Regions from separate parts of the Homo sapiens genome. Here region 2 is linked to region 1. Evidence: promoter capture Hi-C in human tissues and cell types (Jung and others, 2019). All regions are on one chromosome and are shown on one strand. The core of a region is centred on a gene start or on the middle of the fragment in contact, and the rest is flanking DNA. Distances in the headings are between cores, read along the strand shown.

Region 1 (2,700 bases), core at 51-2,550:
TGTTTCTGGGTCCTGGAGGGAGGCCGGGGGAGAAAGAGGTCTAATAGGATGGGCAGGAACCCGGCTAGCGAGAAACAAGGCACAGGGCCAACCTTAGTTGCACAAGACTTTTGAGAGATGAAGGCAACACTTGGTGGAGGTCAGGGTTCACTGAGGGGGTGTCGGGCAGGGGGCGGAGGAGGTCCTGCCGCCTGTCGGTGGGGCCCAGAACCCTGGGAGCCAGGAAGGTGGGGGGTGTCCAGTCCTCAGGGCAACTGGGGCCAGGGAGAGGGGAGGGAGAAATTAAGCGGATTCCCAGACCCATGAACAGACATCCAGACAAATGCCGTTTCCACAGAGACTCACGGAGAGTGAGATAGTCACAGAGACTGAGACAAACGGATGCCGAGATCCAGAGGGTCGGAGAACAGGCAAACTCGGAGCAGTAGACCGGCCCGCGCCCCGGGAACGCGGCCACAGCGGCCGGCGCTCTGCCCGGCCTCTCCGCGCGGAGAGGGGTGGCGGGCCCGACAGCGGAGGGAGGAGAGGGCGCCGCCGCAATCTCACCTCTCCCAGGCCCAAGGCTGCGGGCGCCAAGTTCGCTCCTGGTGATCACTCGAATGCGTCTCCCCTCGGGCTGGAAGCCGTGCGGGCTCGGGTGGGCGCCGGCGGGCCGCGCTGGGGCGGCGTGGGTCCCGGCGTCTCAGCCTCGCGCTCCCACTGCGCTTCGGCCCGGTGGCCCGGGCGCCGCCTTGGGGAGAGGACGGGTGGGGACCGCCGCCACTTCCCTGGCTGCGGCTGGCGCCCGAGTGAGCCTTAACATCCAGGGGCTGAGCGTTCTGAAGGCGGCGGCTTCAGGGAGCACAGGGTGCAGGAGCGGCGGCGAAGACAAGGGCCCGCCTCCGGCCACTCGAGCCCAGCTCCCGCCGCGGCGGCGGTTTGTTCCCGCCGGGTCCCTCAGCGGAGGCGCTACGCCCGCCCCTGTCGCCTCGCCCCACCCCGCCCAGGGAGCTCCGCCCTAGCCCGCAGCTCTTCCGCCTTAGGCAGCCGCTAGGCGGGAGGGACAATCCCCCACCACCAACCACTGCCACCCCGAGGGGACTAGGGGCTGAGGCCCGCCCAGGTAAGGGAAAGCCTCAGCTCCTTCCGTTGCGCCCCAGCGGCGGGTCCCAGCTCGGATTCCCGGGGTAGTGGCGGGGGCCGCCGGCGGGTCGTGCCCTGGAAGGTGAGCGCGGCCGAGCTGGGCCGCCAGGGGGCGCTGCGGAGCCGGGGGACACCCCTCCCTGCCTGCCTCAGTCCCCCGCCCCCTCCCCGCCCGCGCGCAAAACGCACTCGCCCCAGAGGCAGCGCGGCCGAGCCCGAGCCGCTGCCGGAGCGGAGCCGGAGAGTGGCGGCGGCGGCGGCAGCGGCACCATGACCCTGGGCAGCTGCTGCTGCGAGATCATGTCCTCCGAGAGCTCCCCGGCCGCGCTGTCCGAGGCCGACGCAGACATAGACGTGGTGGGCGGCGGCAGCGGCGGGGGGGAGCTCCCAGCTCGCTCCGGGCCCCGCGCCCCCCGGGACGTGCTCCCCCACGGCCACGAGCCTCCCGCGGAGGAAGCCGAGGCAGACTTAGCCGAGGACGAGGAGGAGTCTGGTGGCTGCTCGGACGGCGAGCCCCGCGCTCTGGCGTCCCGGGGGGCGGCGGCCGCAGCGGGGAGCCCGGGGCCAGGCGCCGCGGCGGCCCGCGGCGCAGCGGGGCCCGGGCCGGGACCGCCGTCGGGGGGCGCGGCGACGCGGAGCCCGCTGGTGAAGCCGCCCTACTCGTACATCGCGCTCATCACCATGGCCATCCTGCAGAGCCCCAAGAAGCGGCTGACGTTGAGCGAGATCTGCGAGTTCATCAGCGGCCGCTTCCCCTACTACCGGGAGAAGTTCCCCGCCTGGCAGAACAGCATCCGCCACAACCTCTCTCTCAACGACTGCTTCGTCAAGATCCCCCGCGAGCCGGGCAACCCGGGCAAGGGCAACTACTGGACGCTGGACCCGGAGTCGGCCGACATGTTCGACAACGGCAGCTTCCTGCGGCGTCGCAAGCGCTTCAAGCGGCAGCCCCTGCCGCCGCCGCACCCACACCCGCACCCTCACCCGGAGCTGCTGCTGCGTGGCGGGGCCGCGGCGGCGGGGGATCCCGGCGCTTTCCTGCCCGGCTTCGCTGCCTACGGCGCCTACGGCTACGGCTACGGGCTGGCTCTCCCGGCCTACGGCGCACCCCCGCCGGGGCCGGCCCCGCATCCGCACCCGCACCCGCACGCCTTCGCTTTCGCCGCGGCAGCCGCCGCCGCTCCTTGCCAGCTGTCGGTACCCCCAGGCCGCGCCGCCGCGCCTCCACCCGGACCTCCGACGGCCTCGGTGTTCGCAGGCGCGGGATCGGCCCCAGCTCCTGCGCCTGCCTCAGGCTCGGGCCCGGGCCCGGGCCCCGCAGGCCTGCCCGCCTTCCTGGGCGCGGAGCTGGGCTGCGCCAAAGCCTTCTACGCGGCGTCCCTGAGTCCTCCCGCAGCCGGCACCGCGGCGGGTCTGCCCACCGCACTTCTGCGCCAGGGCCTCAAGACGGACGCGGGCGGTGGTGCAGGCGGCGGGGGCGCCGGGGCAGGGCAGAGGCCTTCCTTCTCTATAGACCACATCATGGGCCACGGTGGCGGCGGGGCAGCACCCCCGGGCGCCGGCGAGGGCTCTCCGGGA
Region 2 (2,700 bases), core at 176-2,675, 39 kb before region 1:
CTGGTTTCCATAGAGAAAGGTTTGGGGCCTTGTTGGCTGCTCTAAGCTAACTTGCCAGGGTCCCAACTAGACCCCTCTGCCCCACCCCCAAATTATAGACTCACTCCCACCTCTTCCCCATCACTGAGCTGTAAAGGACAGTCCAGCTTCTCCCAGGGCAGAAGCCCTTCTACAGCCTCCCTCACCGGTCCCCCAGCTCTGCCTGTAGCCCCATAAATGGGAGCTGGGGTTGCTGTGTCCCTCACAAAGTGCTTTCCTGACACCTCCCCTCAATATTCCAACAATGACCTCATTGGACTCCTCTTCCTCATCTCAATTAATAACGTGATAAAATAATGATAAATGACATTTGCAGATCACTTATATGTCAGACCTCATGCTAAGCTTTTACTATGTATCACCTCATTTAATCATCTGAATGACATCACAGGCAGGTACTATTATCCTTATTTTACAAATGAGGAAACTGAAGCTCAGAGAGGCTAACTTACTCAGAGCCACACAGATAGTCATAATTGCAGAAATAGAGCTCAAACCTAGGAGTATCTGATGTCCAAGTCTAAGAATGTGAAACGGTCTTGAAATGTGCAGTTTAAGTCCTGCCTCCTCCAGAAGGCCTTCTCCAATCATGTTTGGCTCCCGCACCAAACTTTCACAGAAAACCGAACTCCAATGGCTTAAACATTTTTTTTTTATTTTTGAGACAGAGTCTCGCTCTGTCGCCCGGGCTGGAGTGCAGTGGTGCGATCTTGGTTCACTGCAAGCTCTGCCTCCCGGGTTCCCGCCATTCTCCTGCCTCAGCCTCCCAAGTAGCTGGGACTACAGGCGCCTGCCACCACGCCTGGCTAATTTTTTGTATTTTTAGTAGAGATGGGGTTCCATCATGTTAGCCAGGATGGTCTTGATCTCCTGACCTCGTGATCTGCTCGCCTCGGCCTCCCAAAGTGCTGGGATTCCAGGCATGAGCCACCACCCCCGGCTGGCTTAAACCTTTAGGATATTATTTGTTTACTTAACAAGAAGTCCTTCTAGAGATGGTGCAGTAACTTAGAGGTAACAGCTCTTTCCATCTTACTATATCATTATCCCAAGGATATAGGCATGGCAGATTGTACTTACCCAATGTAATACTTGGACACAACAATATCTCCCACGCCACTTGCTCTTCCGCAGTGTGACCTTGCCATTCCCTCATCAACAGGTACAGTCTAATTCTCTTTCCTTTGAATCTGGGCTAGCCTTAGTGACTAGCTTAACCAATAGAAGGTGGAGGAAATGACATTTCGAACTTTCAAGGTTAGGTCATAAGTCTTGCAGCAACTGTCTGGGCTTCTTAAAAGTCTCAGTCTGAAAACACTTGCCCTTGAAAACCAGCTGCCATGCTGTGAGACACCTGAGCCATAAGGCGGTGCCCTGGTCAAGAGCTCTGGATGAACTCCTAGGGGATATCCAGCATCAACTGCCAGCAATGTGCGTGAGCCATCTTGGACATCCAGCCCAGCAGAGTCTTTAAATAAGTCTTGGTCAGGCTGCAAGAACATGACAGCCCTCATGTAGGACCCGTCCAGTTGAGCCCAGTCAACCCACAGAACAGTGAAAGATAATAATAAATTGTTTTAAGGTACCAAATTTTGGGGGTGATTTGTAAAGCAGTAATAGATAATTAAAACAATTGGCTTTCTTCTTCTAGCCTGTTGCCTCAAGTTACAAGATGGCTGCTTCAGCTCCAAGCATCATTTCTTTTTTTTTCTTTCTTTCTTTTTTTTTTTTTTTTTTGAGACAGAGTCTCACTCTGTTGCCCAGGCTGGAGTGCAGTGGCACAATCTCAGCTCACTGCAACCTCCGCCTCCCAGGTTCAAGTGATTCTCCTATCTCAGCTTCCCGAGTAGCTGGGACTATAGGCACCTGCCACCACACCCGGCTAATTTTGTATTTTTAGTAGAGATGGGGTTTCACCATGTTGATCAGGCTGGTCTTGAACGCCTGACCTCAGGTGATGCACCCACCTCGGCCTCCCAAAGTGCTGGGATTACAAGCATAAGCCACTGCACCTGGCCTCCAAGCATCACTTCAAACAACCATATCTAAAAGCAGAAGTGAGTACAGAGCAAAGGCTTTCTCCTTGAGTGACTTTAAGAGGGAGGAAAATCTTAACCCAGAAGTCCCCCAGTATTATCTCTGCATATCTCATTGGCCAGAATTGGGTTGTACCCTCTCCTAACCAAGAGAAATGGGCAAAGGAAAAGGAAGAGGGAAATGATTGTTGGGTGGACAACCAACAGTGTCTGCCATACTTGTTGATGTGGTGGCTCTAGGAGAAAAAAGAGTTAGGTGAGAAAATGATCCAAGGCTCAAGAAGGAGCCTTCCCTACTTCCAGAAGCAAAGCTGCCTCAGTGGCAACAAGTCTATTGAAAGCTCCTTCTTTAGATAGACAGCATGGTGTGCTGACTAGAGTTCTGCTCTGGGAGGCAGAACCTGGCTCTAGTGTGGTATAATATTGCTGAGTCAGTTTCGCATTCTGTGCCTCAGTTTCCTCATCTGCACAATGAAAGGATTCCTTCTAATTCATTCAGGTTAGGAGAAGCCAGGGCAGAAGGGAGGTGCTGGATGCTTAGCTTGTGTGTAGGCAGTGAATGGTCCAAGTCAAGCTCAGCAGAGCCTGCCTCTAGCCACAGATGCTAGGATTTGCCAAACAAACC

What was found. The method cuts DNA at HindIII sites, captures the fragments that hold promoters and counts their contacts. A contact is called where the count stands out against the background at its distance.
Region 2: a contact is called between a fragment that was not itself captured here and the fragment with the promoter of FOXD2 in region 1, in 2 of the 25 tissues and cell types used here (IMR-90 fibroblasts and neural progenitor cells).

What each region holds. Positions count from the first base shown.
Region 1 is chr1:47,436,744-47,439,443 of GRCh38, forward strand. It overlaps FOXD2 (forkhead box D2), which reads left to right and starts at 1,301. Exons shown (of 1, transcript NM_004474.4): 1 at 1,301-2,700. The coding sequence starts at 1,393. LINC01389 (long intergenic non-protein coding RNA 1389) reads right to left here and starts at 574. Exons shown (of 5, transcript NR_126355.1): 1 at 547-574. RefSeq lists silencers at 421-1,320, 1,351-1,530. The HindIII fragment of the contact is 12,527 bases long and covers 1-2,700 here.
Region 2 is chr1:47,397,235-47,399,934 of GRCh38, forward strand. The region is part of intron 3 of LINC01389 (long intergenic non-protein coding RNA 1389); the gene reads right to left. Among named protein-coding and RNA genes, the nearest start is that of FOXE3, 18 kb to the right of the region's middle. The HindIII fragment of the contact is 5,957 bases long and covers 1-2,700 here.